5 separate regions of the Homo sapiens genome follow, and regions 2, 3, 4 and 5 are each linked to region 1. The links are contacts of gene promoters, found by promoter capture Hi-C in blood cells and fetal thymus (Javierre and others, 2016). All regions are on one chromosome and are shown on one strand. Each heading gives the region's core, a stretch centred on a gene start or on the middle of the fragment in contact. The rest is flanking DNA. Distances are from core to core; before and after follow the strand shown.

Region 1 (2,894 bases), core at 151-2,650:
CTGTATGTGACATGGACCCCTAGCTTTAGACCCTACAGATCACAGTGCAGTGTCTTTCACAGAGTGAGTGTGCTGGGTACTAGTGATACTAAGCTGGGTGATAAACCCTGCTAGAGAGGTGCGGCCTGCATGGAGTGGAGAGTGTGTGACAAGGTGAAGCAGCCCAGACAGAAGTGCCAGCACCACCATCCACTAATTGGGTGACCTCAGCCATGCACCCGAGCTCTGGGCCTCATCTTTCCCATCTATAACATGTGGGCATGTACCTTTGTTTTGGCAAATAAATGACAATATATGCTTTTAGAAACTGGTGGCTACTAATCTTATGTAAAGAATGTGTGTATTTATCTTGCCAAATAAATATATGGTTGCTCTTCAATTTCGGATCATGACAAGTCGATATCATAACGAATTTGTTGTATTTCTTGGTCAGGGAAGAAGGAGAGAGAAAAAAACCAGTGCCTAGTGATGACGCCAAGTCAAGGTAAAACCTGGCCAAGGGTGGACCTGGCTCCAGTGTCTCTTCCAGTTCTCCTTCACCCTGGGGATTACTCATTTATCTCTATGAATGCAGATTTATGGACCTATAAATGAATATATGTGTTAGGGCCACCATTGCTTGTTGTAACTCCACAAAGCATGTTGACCACAAAACCTATTGAGGGCCATAGGGGCCCAGCCTGCAACGCAGCCCATCTGCTCCCTGCATCCTCATCCACCGCCTTCCTTACCACCGCCCACCCACATGCCAGCACTGCCGCGCGGCCTCTGCTCCGGCCGTCCCTTGGCCTACACTGCCTTTTCCTAATCTTTCCCAAGTTGACTCCTAACACCTTTTAAGACTGCCTAGAATCACCGGGAAGGCTTCGCTGGCCCACCCCTGCCCGCCCAGCTTCCCCAGGCTGGGGGAAGTCCTTCTTCTGGGGGCTTCCGTGTGCACCTCTGTGCCTCCACGTCCCTCCTCACACGGTGACTTTCCGATGATGCGCCTGCCTCCCCTGTCCATGGATAATGAATTCACCCAGGACAGGGCTTTGTCTTTTTCATTCCTGAATCCGAAGCTTACCTGCTACTAGAGAATTTGTGAATTTCCGTTGAACACGTGGAAGACCTAGGAAGCTGTGGGGGAGAAAGAATGAATGACTTTCTTCAAGGCCTCCTGGCAAAGCAGCAGTGCAGCGGGAACCGGAGCCGGAGGACGCTGGCTCCTCACCTAGAGCCCTCCCTTGGGTCAGGGTGGCTCTTCTCTCCCATACCTAGCGTCCGGCGCTTGGCTTTGTTTCCCGGAGTGGGTGGCACTGTTTGGCCGCCACAGGCACAGCATCGCCCCTAGGCATCGCCCTCCGCACCCGGGGATGCGGCGTCCCCAGCCTTGCCTTTCTTGATGGCTAAAGCAACAGCGCCACCTTCCGGCCTCAAGGCCACCGGGCGTGGCCGGACTTGGGAGACCTTGGGCGCCCTCTTGTGGAATTTCAGAAGTTGGGCTGCGAAAATGACTCCGTTATCCCCAGCTGACCATGAGGCCCGCTGGGCACTTCCACCTCTGAGGTTTGAGTGGTTCAGTGGGCCTGTGCAGGGAAACCCAGCCTAGAAAGCAAGCCTTTATAGCTACCTTGGTGTAGAAGATCAGAGGCATATGAGGTGAGAAACAGGTGACATGTCACGCTCCCTGGAGACAAAATGTCCAGAAAGCTCCTCTAGGCAGCAAATAAAGAAGTTATGAAAAGGAACCGTGGAGAAAAAAGAGGTGAAGGGAAAAGAAAGGGAATGTTATTCTGACCCACATGCCTCACCGCCAGGGCTGAAGTCACTACTAACAAGGCCATTTAGGAAGAGCAGGCTGGAGTTGACAGCCTTTCCCCAGGAGTCCTCTGGTTTCCAGGTCCCCCGGTTTGAAGCACTCAGGAACACACTCAGCCCCTGAATCTTCACTCAGTTCCGTGGTGTTACTGGCAATCGTTGGATATCCCTGGCTGGGGCTCAGCCTCAGCTCCGGTGTCAGCTACATAAGAATCTCAGCATCTTGGGAACGTGAGCTCAACTTGAAATACACTTCCCTGAAAGGATTACTTTGTTTTGGGACAAGGCTCATATCAATCTGTCCTGCCAAGAGATTACTGCTGTTAAACTGTTGGTTTTCACTGCTGTCAAACATAATCTTACAAGGAGAGAGAGGGGCAATCACCCTCAACACCCAGCTGCAAGAGAAGACTTTTGACTGGGCAGGACTTTTCCTGGCACTCTCTGGAGAATAAAAAAGGAATATGTAGAATGGCTGTTGTGTGATTAATGCTTACACCCACAGTGCGGCTGAGCCATTCCCAGGGGTGCACTGAGTGGGATCCCTCTACATGCAACGACCCTGCTGGCATTTCACAGGTGCCTGTGGAGAAGGCCCATTGAAGACCTGGGGCTGAAAGTGCAGCTCAACTTTGCACATATGCTTGGATTTCCTCTCTATTCCAAGGCAGACAGTCCTCAGGGTTTGGCCTAACACACAAAGGATGGGAAGAATAAAGAAACGATGTTCCAACAGTATTTCTGCAGATCTAAGCTACTGAAGGGATGCTGGACCAACCACGATAGATGCTTCCTTTTCCGCAGTGCCTCGAAAAACACTTAGGAGTGTGAAGGAGTGAAATTTTATGCTATTGGCCTTGTTCTCATTTACTTTTGATTATTATAAAATTATTCTAACGCAAAACCCATAAAAAATTGGTAACTCAGAATCTCGCCAGATGAACTGTTACATCGGACTACGCTCTAGGAAGAAGTATTAAAAATCAAAGATATTAACTTTCCAAGTGTTCATTTCCATCTGTTTTCCCTCTCTGGGACTCAGTTTCCTACTCTGTACAATTGGGACGGTGACCTACTTTCAAGGACCTTTATAG
Region 2 (2,894 bases), core at 259-2,758, 510 kb before region 1:
GGGTTTCACCATGTTACCCAGGATGGTCTTGATCTCCTCACCTCGTGATCTGCCTGCCTCAGCCTCCCAAAGTGCTGGGGTTACAGGTGTGAGCCACCGCTCCCGGCCAATAATAGCTATTCTTTAAATGTGAAGTAGTATCTCCTTGTGGTGTCGATTTGCATTTCCCTAATGGCTGGTGATGTTGAGCATCTTTTCGTGTGTTTATTGACCAATTGTTTATCTTCTTTAGAGTAACGTCTATTTGAGTCTTTTACCTACTTCAAACAAATTTTGTTGTTATTGTTGAATCGTAGGAGTTTTACGAATAAGATGTATTCTGGATATTAATCCCTTCTCAGTTACATGACTTACAAATATTTTCTCCTTTTCTATGGGTTGCATTTTTGCTTTTTTCGTAGTTTTCTTTCTTTCTTTCTTTCTTTTTTTTCTTTTTCTTTTTTTTTTTTTTTTTGAGATGGAATCTTGTTCTGTTGCTCAGGCTGGAGTATAGTGGTGCAATCTCAGCTCACTGCAACCTCCACCTCCCAGGTTCAAGCAATTCTCGTGCCTCAGCCTCCCAGTATCTGGGACTACAGGTGCATGCCACCACACTTGGCTAATTTTTGTATTTTTAGTATAGATAGGGGTTTTACCATGTTGGCCAAACTGGTCTCGAACTCCTGACCTCAGGTGATCCACCCACCTCAACCTCTCAAAGTGCTGGGATTACAGGTGTAAGCCATCTCACCCAGCCCTTCATAGTTTTCTTTGATACACAAAATTTTTAAATTTTGATGAAGTCCGATTTATCTATTTTTTTTTCTTTTTTTGCCTGTGCTTTTCATGTCATATCCAAGAATTCATTGACAAATCCAATGTCATGAAGCTTTCCACTATGTTTTCTTTTCTTTTTTTCTTTGAGACGGAGTCTCACTCTGTCACCTAGGCTGGAGTGAGGTGGCGCAGTCTTGGCTCATGGCAACATCCGTCTCCTGGGTTCAAGCAATTCTCCTGCCTCAGCCTTCCAAGTAGCTAAGACTACCATGCCAGCTAATTTTTGCTGGCATATGCTACCATGCCAGCTAATTTTTGTATTTTTAATAGAGATGGGGTTTCACCAAGTTGGCCTGGCTGGTCTCAAACTCCTGACCTCAAGTGATCTGCCACTCTTCGCTTCCCAAAGTGTTGGGATTACAGGCATGAGCCACCACACCTGGCTCACTATGTTTTCTTTTGGGAGTTTTATAGTTTTATCTCTAATGTTTAGACTTTTGATCCATTTTGAGTCAATTTTCGCATATTGTGTAAGATAAGGGTGTAACTTCATTCTTTTGCATGTGAATATCCAGTTTTCCCAATATCATTTCTTGAAAACACTACTTTCTCCATTGAATGGCCTTGGCAACCCAGTTGAAAATTGTTTGATTGTATGTGCAGCAGGTTATTTCTGGGGTCTCTATTCTATTCCTTTGGTCTGTAGATCTGTCTTTATGGCAGTATCACACTGTGATGGTGTAGCACCATCAGAAAATGTGAGTTGAAAAATTTGTTATTTTTCAACATTGTTTTGGCTATTTGGGGTCCCTCGAGGCCCATATTAATTTTTAGGATGGATTGTTTTTATTTCTGCAAAAAACATTATTGGGATTTTGATAAAGATAGCATTGAATTGCTTTGGGTAATATTGACATATTAATTAAGGCTTCCAATCTATGAACATGGGATGTTTTTCCATTTACCTTTCGTTTCTTTCAGCAGCTTTTGTAGTTTTTCAGTGGACAAATCTTTCACCTCCTTGATTAATTTTATTCTAGGCATTTTATTCTTTTTGATGTTATCATAAATGCAATTGCTTTCTTAATTTCTTTTTCAGATTGCTCATTACTAATATGTAGAAATACAACTGATTTTTGAGTGTTGATTTTGTATCCTACAAGTTTTATGAATTTGTTTATTAGGTCTAACTGGTTTTTGGTAGAATATTTACTTTTTCCTACATTTCAGATTATGTCATCTGTAAACACAGATAATTTTACTTCAGTTGATTCAGTTTGGTTGCCTTTTATTTCTTTGTCCTGCCTCGTTGCTCTGGCTACAATTTCCAGTTTTGTTTTGAATAGAAGTGGCAAAACCAGGCATCCTTGTCTTATTCCTAATCTTGGAGGGAAAGCTTTTAGTCTTTTAGTATCAAGTATGATGTTAGCCATTGGTTTTTAATAATAGCTTTTATCAAGTTGAAAAGATTTCCTTTTATTCCTAGTTTATTGATTTTTTTAAATCATGAAAGGGTGTTGAATTTTGTCAAATGCTTTTTCTGCATCAATTGAGATGATCATGTGGTTTTCTTCTCCTTCATCCTGTTGATATGGTGTATTATACTGATTGATTTTTTGTGTGTTGAACTGTTCTTGCATTCTAGGAATAAAACCTACTTGGTAATGGTGTATAGCTCCTTATTAATATGCTACTGAATTTTTTGATAGTAGTTTGTTGAGGATTTCTGTGTCAATATTCATAGGGGACATTGATTTGTAGTTTTCTTTTTGTGTAGTGTCTTTGTATGGCTTTGATATGAGGGTAATGCTGGCCACATAGAATGAGATTTGTAAGTAGTTTCTTCTCTTCAATTCTTTTGAAGAGTTTGAGAAGGATTGCTATTAGTGCTTCTTAAGTATTTGGTAATATTCACCAGTGAAGCCAACTGATCCTGGGCTTTTTTTTTGTTAAGATGTTTTGATTACTAAGGCAATCTCCCTACTAGTTATAGTATTCTATTTCCTATTTCTTACATTTTCTATTTCTTCCTGAGTCAGTTTTGGTAGGTTGTGTATTTCTAGGAATCTGTCCACTTTATCTAGGTTACCCAGTGTGTGTTGGCAAACAGTTGTTCATAGAATTATCTTATAACCTTT
Region 3 (2,894 bases), core at 170-2,669, 450 kb before region 1:
GCTTCCAGGTGACTTAATGGGACAGGTGGCACAGATAACTCCCAGATACTGTGTCAGCCTTCAAGGACCTCTGTGGTCTGGCCTTGACATAGTGGTGTGCTTTGCTTGATTCCACCTAAGTGAATGAGGGCCCTTCTCACACCTTTCCACCACCCTGGCAGGTCCCCTCACACCTCACCCATCTCAGTCCTCCAGACTCTGCTCAGTCCTAACTCCTTTCAAAGCTTCCGCTCACCCAGCCTTTCCTTTCTCCGAGCGCCTCACCAACCTAGGGTCTGTGACTCATCCATTGAAATGTAATGGCTGTGTTAAAGGGATTTGGGTCTCTAATTGGACTACAAGCTCCTTAGGGACAGAGACCATGCCTTTTACATTTTCATACATTTTTATAGTTCTAGACACACAAAAAATACTAAAAAATACTCGACAGTAATGGCAGACTTTGGTGCATCTGACATCATGGCATCACTTTTCGTCCACACCTACCTTGCACCCTATATTCATTCTCATCCTCCCCCTTTCCCAGCAACGTCTCACCCTGTATGCCAGGCAAACTCTCATACAATTCCAGGGCAAAGTTTCTAGAGCCTCAAACCATTGTGGATCCTTCTTGTCTTGTGAAACCGCAAAGCCTACAGATTCTCCTGAGACATCAACCCAATGCCAGTGTCTTTTCCCGTGGTTGAATCTCTCCTAAGGCTCTGCCTGATTTTTCTTGCCTGCCAATCCTTCCTGGAGCTGCACACTGGGCAGTTGGATGGGATGGTGGGGAAAAACCTTGTAATGATTTCCCTCTCACGAGTTTGCTGCTGCCCCTTTACTGCCTCTAAGTTAATGTTCATGGTTTCCAGCAGGTACTGGGGATAGGAATATGCCAAGGGGAGGGAGAGGTAGTATTCCTTCCTGGGAAGATTCTGTCAAACAGTTGCCATGTTCCCAAGGGAAGATGGGCAACTCTTCTCAGAAGGAATGTGAACAGGAATCAGATTCAGAAATCCTCCCTCTGCCCTGGGCTGAATTTTGGCTAGAAAGACCTTGGAGGTTTGGCTCTGACACTTGCTTTGGAAAATGCTTCCATTCTGCACACAGATGAGGGTTCCTATGCCTCCAGGAGGATTAGTTTCCTAGACACCAGCCCCTCTGCAGAGGCTCCTCCCCAATAAGTTTGGTTGGGAGTGATGTCCTCCTCTCCACATCTTGGAAGATGAGCGTAATTTCTCTCCTTGACTTTGCCAGGCTCTCTGAACACTATGAGAGCTGTCCCGGGTCCCTGAGAGCTGCCCCTGGGATTGGAACCTTGCAGAGCCCATTTAGGTGGAGATCACAGGCAAAACTCTACATCCCAGGAGACCCAATTTACTCCCCTCTGGGAGTAACTCTATATCCCGGGACACCCACTTCACTCCCACTTTACACATCCTCTGGGGATGCGTCATAGCAATGATAGTAGCTGCTCTGGCAGGGGCGGCCCTGAGTGGTAATTACCGTCAGGGGGGCATTCCTCCGTGTGGCATGACTGGTACTTGGCTCTCCGACCCAGGCAGTATCTTCCTCCATTCTGAGGCTCGGGGTCCTTGCACTCACGGTGTGAAAACTGTACTCCTCCTCCACAGGTCCGAGAACATTCTCCCCAGGGTCCCCACGGTGCCCAGCCTCCATCTGCCACGGGCTGCAACATACAATGGCACACTGAATGAGGAGCAAAGGCCAGGAGGCTTCAGTATCTGTGTCACTGGGTGGCCAATGCCCTGGCTTCCTCATCTAGTCATTATCATCTTGGTGCATGGAGTGCCGTAAACTGCCTCAATCATTTGTTTAATGACTGTGTGGCCTGCATGGCTTTGTGAGCACAGAGACCAGGCTGGACTCATTCACTACTGACTCCTCAGTGTCTAAAACAGTGCCTTATGCTTAGTAAGGTGCTCAATAGGCTATCTGCTGAATGAATGAATGACACCCTTTTATGGGAATAAGGTTGCATATAATGCAGTGGTTCTCCGTTGGGGCGAATTCTGCCCTCCAGGGGACATTTGGCAATGTCTGGAGATACTCTGGTGGCTACAGCTGTGGAGGGTGTACGTGACCACATCTAGTGGGTAGAGGCCAGTGATGCTGCTCCACATCCAGCAATGCACAGGCCCCACGGTAACAATTATCCAGTCCTAAGTGTCCCTAGTGCCAAGGCAGAGGAACTCTGGTCTAAAGGAAACATCCCTGCGAGGTGTTGCCATAGTCTACCAGCCACTGGTTCTGGTGATAGGACAATGCTTGGGAAAGAAACAGAATTGCTTCCTTTTTTTTTGACAGAGTTTTGCTCTGTTGCCAAGGCTGGAGTTCAAAGGCGTGATCTCGGCTCACTGCAACCTCCGCCTCCTGGGTTCAAATGATTCCTGTGCCTCGGCCTCCCGAATAACTGGGATTACAGGTGCACACCTCCACGCCTGGCTAATTTTTGTATTTTTAGTAGAGATGGGGTTTCACCATGTTGGCCATGCTGGTCTTGAACTCCTGACCTCAAGTGATCAACCTGCCTCGGCCTCCCAAAGTACTGGGATTACAAGTGTGAGCCACCATGCCTGGCCCTGCTTCCCATTTTACAACTGACCTATGAGAACAAAGCTTTGCCCTTTGGAATGCTGTATGCCCAAAGGTTCATAGAGTATTCAAAATGAAAATAATTTTTTAAAAGTTATAAAAGTAATAGTTGCTCATACGACAAATAAAAAAATGCAGAAAAGTGTAAAAAAGAAATTAACACTTCTTTAAAACACCACTACCCAGATAAAACCATTAACATGATTTTCACCAATATTTTTCATACTTTTGCTCTGAATATATCATCATAAAAATGCAATGCTTTTATTTTACAAAAGATATGATTCTATGTATATATT
Region 4 (2,894 bases), core at 206-2,705, 400 kb before region 1:
GGCGCATGCCTGTAATCCCAGCTGCTCGGGAGGCTGAGGCACGAGATGCTTGAACCCGGGAGGCAGAGGTTGCAGTGAGCCGAGATCACACGACTGTACTCCAGCCTGGGCAACAGAGCGAGACTCAGTCTCAAAAAAAAAAAAAAAAGTTAATGTGCTTGATTTTTGTGCATCCCTCTGTCTTTGTACTGCTGGAAAACATTGAGCATCTTGGTACATGCCTGGGAAATGAGAAGAGGTAGGAAGGTGGTTCACAGGGATGGCAGCTGGTGGGAATCGTGGTGGAGGTGTGTATGGAGTGACACTGGTAAACAAGCTACTGTCAGATGTTATCCTTGTTTATTTATTTAAGGTGTGGCTCCAATCCTAAATTATTTTATAAGAAGGGACAGTTAGAAAATAACAGTCCAGGAGGATTAAGGTTCCTGGCCAAGATGATTCCAGGATCATCTGGAAAAGTGGCTGCAGCTACAAAGAAAAACAGCCAATTGCTGGGAATCGTGAGGCAGGTAGGGGCTGGGTTAGGAATACCTACACCTTCTGGGAGGAAGAAGGCAGAACAGCTTCTGTTTTTTGGAGGCAAGCACTTGGGCTGAAGAGGTTAAGGCAGTTTTAGTGCCTCTGAGTTCATTCCAGAAGGGTGGAGATTTTTGATGCCACAAAGGAGGCACTGCTGGGCCCCTGTATAAGCACTCGTAGGCGTTCAAAGTGCAGAGGCCCAGCGGTTCTTCATTGAGTCCCTGCCGGGGTGGGGAGGAGGACAGGCAGAGCTTCTGACCCCATACAGCTGTGTCTTCCCACAGTGAAGACGCTGGTTACTGCAAGACGGCTGCTTCCAGAGCCACTCTTACCCTCAGGAAATTTGCCGGCTCTTTCCTTGTTCCTCTCATTTGATCCAGGGAAACCGGGACTTCTTGATGGAAAGAACAGGTTGCTTCTGGCCAAGAAGGGCCTGCAGCTGCATGTCTTTGCTCCAGAGAAAATCCACCCTCCCTAGGAGGAAGGAGGCTTTTGGCCGTAAGGACTTCCCAGCCACAGAGGCGGCTGCGGGGTGGCTGAGTTCCAGACGCCCTCTAGATCCCAGTCTGAGCATTCAATCTGGTCTAGCGGTTTCTTTCTTTCTTTTTTAAATTTTAATTTTTGTAGAGATGGGGTCTTGTTACGCTGCCCAGGCTGGTCTTGACCTCCTGGCCTCAAGTCGTCCTCCCGCCTTGGCCTCCCGAAGTGCTAGGATTACAGGCCCGAGCCACTGCATCCTGCCTGGTCTAGGCATTTCTGAAGAGCGGGGCCGGGGAACAGGACTCTGAATCTCCACGTGGGTGACTTCCACTTTTCTGAGAGCGAGTGCTGTCAACTACATGACTTGGGTCAGTAGACAAGATGTTCCTTGGGGTTCTAAAAATATGTCATTCTGTGGGTTCCCTTTATAACCTACAGGGCCAGAAGGGGCTGCATGCTCTGGGACTGGGGAAGGAGCAGAGGCTGAAAGCACTGGTTGATTCAGGCTCTAGTTGAAAGTTGGCCCTTCCCCAGAGCAGGAAACCAAGGCCCCGAAGAGAGAGGACTTGGATAAAGTCACACATCTACTTAGTGATAGGGCCAGGACCGGAATCTAGACTTCTTGATTCTTATTTCTGCGCCCTCTCCCTCTTACACAGGGAGCAGTGAGTGTGCAGGGCAGCCCAGAGGCAAGGGTAGGTGCCTGCCCCCGCAGGCTGCAACTGCTAGGCTAGAATGTCCAGAGCTCCAGCCTTGCTGGGTCCTACACCACACCCGTCCTACACCTACATCCTTCACTATGCCCTTGCAAGAGCCTTCATCCCTGCCCTCATCTTGGCTCCCTTCCCCACAGTTCACACGCTGATCCATGTTTCTCAGCTGTCACATTCCCTAAACTGCTGGTCGGGTGAAGGTCCCCTCCCAAGTGTTTTTTTTTTTTTTTTTTTTTTTTTTGAGACAGAGTCTTGCTCTGTCACCCAGGCTGGAATGCAGTGGCGTGATCACGGGTCACTGTAGATTACCCTCCCAGGCTCAAGTGATCCTCCTACCTCAGCCTCCTCCTACCAGCCTGGCCAACATGGCGAAACCCCATCTCTACTACAAATACAAAAATTAGCTGAGCATGGTGGCAGGTGCCTGTAATACCAGCTACTAGGGAGGCTGAGGCAGGAGAATCGCTTGAACCTGGGAGGCAGAGCTGGGATTACAGGTGTGCACCATCATGCCTGGCTAATTTTGTTTATGTTTTGTAGAGACAGGGTCTCACCATGTTTCCCAGGTTGGTCTTGAACTCCTAGACTTAAGCGATCTGCCTGCCTTGGCCTCCCAAAGTGCTGGGATTACAGGCATGAGCCACTGCGCCCAGGCCCCTCCCAAGTTTTGACAGTGGTTGTTTTCTAGGTTTCAGAGCTCTTGGGAAGGAAAACTTTCTGGGAGAGTGGGTCTTTGAAGACGAAAGAATATGGGAAGAGAAGGGCATTTGAAGTCCTCCATGGGGCTCCTAGAAGTGGAGGTAGTGCTTCCAGCAAGCACAGGTGGCAGACCTGGCTGGGTGTGCAGGGCACACATCACTGCCTCTGGTGCACCCGGGTTCAGGCTGGTCACCCTCGGAATAACTGTTCACTCATTAGGAGGTGTGACTATCATCTGACCGTGGGAAGCCAAGTTTGACTGCTCAGGTGGTAAACCTCTGAGTGCTTTGGATTAAATTTTGCTGATTTTCTGTACTCTGACCGCTTTTCCTCCCATGCCCCCTGGCTCCTGGCTCCCTGCGCTGTGCTGCTGCCCACCTTCGCCCCTTGCCAGCATGTACACAGATGCACATGTGGCCTTGCATATACGTGCACATGCATGCAGACACATGCTTCTTTGCCTGTGGAAGGTGGTAGTAATAG
Region 5 (2,894 bases), core at 162-2,661, 380 kb before region 1:
CTGCCTTTGTTTTGCTCTCCTGAGCTGTGGTCAGTAACGTAAGTCACGTTCCAAGCAGTGACCAGAATGTTGTGAAGGAGGAGATAAGAGTTCCTGACCTCCCGAGGCATTCCAAAGAAGAAACAGAACTATTTGTTTCCAAAGGAGAACAATTTTAGCAGAAAGGGTAAGATAGAGGGAGATGAAGAGAGGAGGGAATCTCCTCGTGAAAAACTGGATTTGGGAAAAGGGTGAAAATATTGTCATGGGGAATGGCTGGAATTTGATGAGATTTTAGCTGTACTCCTAGGCTGTTAGAAACAATTGCCTTCGTATCATTCCCCGTTCCTGTACCTAGCCACGGTCCCAGACAGTGTCCAGGGCCTTAAGCCACTGCTGTCCCAGACATCTGACCAACAGTTCAGATGACCTCAGGGGACTGGGATTCTGGCCTCAGCAGGGAGTACCCCGAATCTCTGCCATGGGTAATTGAGCAGATACTCCTGATGTGGTTTTGTTGTTGTTGAGGATTTTGAGAAAAGAGCCTTTGAGAGTGCTCTGGAAATGTGTTCAGGAGGATGACATGGCTTTTCTAAGCACCCTCCCTGGGCTGAGTCTGCAGTGCATGGGAACCTGGTTCTGAAGCTGCAGTTACACACAGCACCCAGAGCCCAGGGCTTGGGACACAGTCAGTGGTCAATGAGTATTTGTGACGCAGAGGCTTCCTTGGGAACACACAGTAAACCAAGAGGGATGAAGGAGCCTGTCTCCGGTGGAAATGTGGGGACGCTTCTCAGTGTAGGCACTGTCTGTCTGCATACATGGTCCTGTTTGATCTTCACCGCCTGCCCGGTGCTGCTGCTCCTTGCAGCCCTCTGCTCAGCTCACGCATTTCATACGCTTTCCTTGGGGATCACGTGCTATCTCACTGCTCAGTTAAAACCAACACATCAGTGGATTCTGCGTCTGCATACATAACCCTCCCACCCACCTGTGTTCACCCAGACTCCCCACCAACCCCACACAGACCACCCCAAACATCTCATTATTCATCCAGTCACATGACTTGATTCCACCTCCAGGATATCTTCAAACTTGGTCCCTTTCTTCCTTCCCACTGCTGCTGCTGTAGTGCAGGCCAGCATCATGTCTCACTGGAGTATATCCGTAGTCTGTACCTGTTTTCCCTTGTTTCAGATTCGTCCGCTTTCAATCTTTCCAGCAGGTGTGACATTTAGTGACAGCAGGTGCCCCATCTTGAGCTCTCATGGCACCCTCTGCGTCTTCTGACATTGAGCGAATTGCTTGTCCGTCTCTTTGGCTATACCCTAAAGACCTCGAGGGCAGGCTTTAATTGTCTTGGCACTAAGTGCTTGGCACACAGTAATCATATAATGATAATAGCCATCACCCAGCATTAACTATATATAAGCATTCTATTAAGGTCTTTACTTCTCTTATTGTATTTATTGTTCATAACAACATTATGAATTATATTCTATCACTGCCCCTCCTCGTGTATCAGGAAGCTGAGGATCAAAGATGTTAGGGACCTTTAGATATTCCCCCGACTTGTAAATGGCAGCATCAGGACTCCGAGCCCTGTATTTACTGAAGAAGTTGTAGAATGAACCGCTTAGCCTACTCCTCGAGAAACATTTTTTTGGGGGAGATGGACATGAGAAAATGATTATGATGGCGCATGAGAAGTGCTCCAACAGAGGTATGCTTCTAGATCTATGGGAATTATACACGAAGCAATTGCAGGAATCACTGAGTGGACCTGGGAAGGAGTCAGAGGAAATGATGCTCTTGAGCTGAGTTTTGAAGAATGAATAGAATTTGTTGGGCAGATAAGGAGATTCCTGGAAGTGTGGCCAGCACGTACGATGGCATGGAGGTCAGGAATGAAAACAGCTTGATGTGGCTGGACTGTAGAATACATGAGAGAGTGGTGGGCTTGAAGCCTAGGCTGGGCTGGGGTCTGATCATGGAGGGCCTTCTATGTTGCATTAGGGAGTTTTTGCTTTGTTTGACAGGCAGCAGAGAGCCATGGAAATATTTTAAATCAGACTGTAATTAGCTCACCACTCCAGTGAGCTGGTAGTAAGCATGGACTGGGATAGGAAAAGACTGTTGGCAGAAAGACCAAGTAAGAGGCTCCTGCAATAATCCAGATTTAAGACCATGAAAGCCTGGCAGTGTAAGTGGATTGGAGAGGATGACATAAATTCTAGAAATATCTAGGAGAAGTATGAGCTGGTCTTGAGTGCTAACCGTGTGCAGCGTATGACAATAAAAGCAATGTCAGAGGAAATGCAGATTAATGTTTTCCATCTCAACGACTTCCTTGCTTTACAAAAGAAGTATAAAATTAGGCCATTCCTTGACTCAGAGATATGAGCATGCAACAAGGGCAGGGGAAAGGCGGATGTACTTGACTTCCTCTTGGGATTAAGTTTCTAAAATATGGTACTGCCAGGATTCAGAGGGATGAGATGACTGATGGTTTCTCCTGTTGCTCTCACTTCCAACCACGCCTCCTTACCCACTGCCTTAGTTCCTGGCATCACATCCCTCAACCTCCAGCCTTAGTGTGGTGTGGTTAGCATGGCACCAAGAAGACATGGGCGAGTGAAAGGAAAAAATAGAGACCAGAAAAAACAACAGAGATAGTTCACGTACACTAGTGTGAAATCAACGATATGGTATTTCAAATGTACTTTAGCAGAGGTCGTAGAAACAGATTTATTTTTTAATATACCCCCTGTATCTTTCAATTAACTGTACATTGTGCATAATATATTTCAATACTGGTATCTCAGGATGGGAATAGCAGAAACATATGTTAGTGGAGTTGTATTAACTCTAGGGACAGTATCACTGGGTTACGAGATATTATGGCTCCACGTGTC

What was found. Contacts are between HindIII fragments. The CHiCAGO score rates a contact against its expected background, and 5 or more counts as called.
Region 2: a fragment that was not itself captured here is called in contact with the fragment with the promoter of LINC02551 in region 1 in 1 of 17 cell types (total CD8 T cells); the score reaches 5.7 in total CD8 T cells.
Region 3: a fragment that was not itself captured here is called in contact with the fragment with the promoter of LINC02551 in region 1 in 15 of 17 cell types (M0 macrophages, total B cells, fetal thymus and 12 more); the score reaches 10.6 in M0 macrophages.
Region 4: a fragment that was not itself captured here is called in contact with the fragment with the promoter of LINC02551 in region 1 in 16 of 17 cell types (megakaryocytes, endothelial precursors, total CD8 T cells and 13 more); the score reaches 14.9 in megakaryocytes.
Region 5: a contact is called between a fragment that was not itself captured here and the fragment with the promoter of LINC02551 in region 1, in 6 of 17 cell types (endothelial precursors, M0 macrophages, M1 macrophages and 3 more). The highest score is 6.9, in endothelial precursors.

Annotation. Positions count from the first base shown.
Region 1 is chr11:130,860,710-130,863,603 of GRCh38, forward strand. LINC02551 (long intergenic non-protein coding RNA 2551) reads right to left here and starts at 1,401. Exons shown (of 6, transcript NR_125383.1): 1 at 1,257-1,401; 2 at 1,067-1,119. RefSeq lists enhancers at 762-1,262, 1,263-1,763. The HindIII fragment of the contact is 6,813 bases long and covers 1,060-2,894 here.
Region 2 is chr11:130,352,227-130,355,120 of GRCh38, forward strand. All of the region lies in intron 1 of ZBTB44-DT (ZBTB44 divergent transcript), which reads left to right. Among named protein-coding and RNA genes, the nearest start is that of ZBTB44-DT, 39 kb to the left of the region's middle. The HindIII fragment of the contact is 1,284 bases long and covers 867-2,150 here.
Region 3 is chr11:130,409,932-130,412,825 of GRCh38, forward strand. It overlaps ADAMTS8 (ADAM metallopeptidase with thrombospondin type 1 motif 8), which reads right to left. Exons shown (of 9, transcript NM_007037.6): 6 at 1,486-1,669. Among named protein-coding and RNA genes, the nearest start is that of ADAMTS8, 17 kb to the right of the region's middle. The HindIII fragment of the contact is 2,395 bases long and covers 223-2,617 here.
Region 4 is chr11:130,457,099-130,459,992 of GRCh38, forward strand. The region is part of intron 1 of ADAMTS15 (ADAM metallopeptidase with thrombospondin type 1 motif 15); the gene reads left to right. Among named protein-coding and RNA genes, the nearest start is that of ADAMTS15, 9.9 kb to the left of the region's middle. The HindIII fragment of the contact is 4,486 bases long and covers 1-2,894 here.
Region 5 is chr11:130,478,569-130,481,462 of GRCh38, forward strand. No RefSeq gene overlaps it. Among named protein-coding and RNA genes, the nearest start is that of ADAMTS15, 31 kb to the left of the region's middle. RefSeq lists an enhancer at 1-318. The HindIII fragment of the contact is 3,878 bases long and covers 1-2,894 here.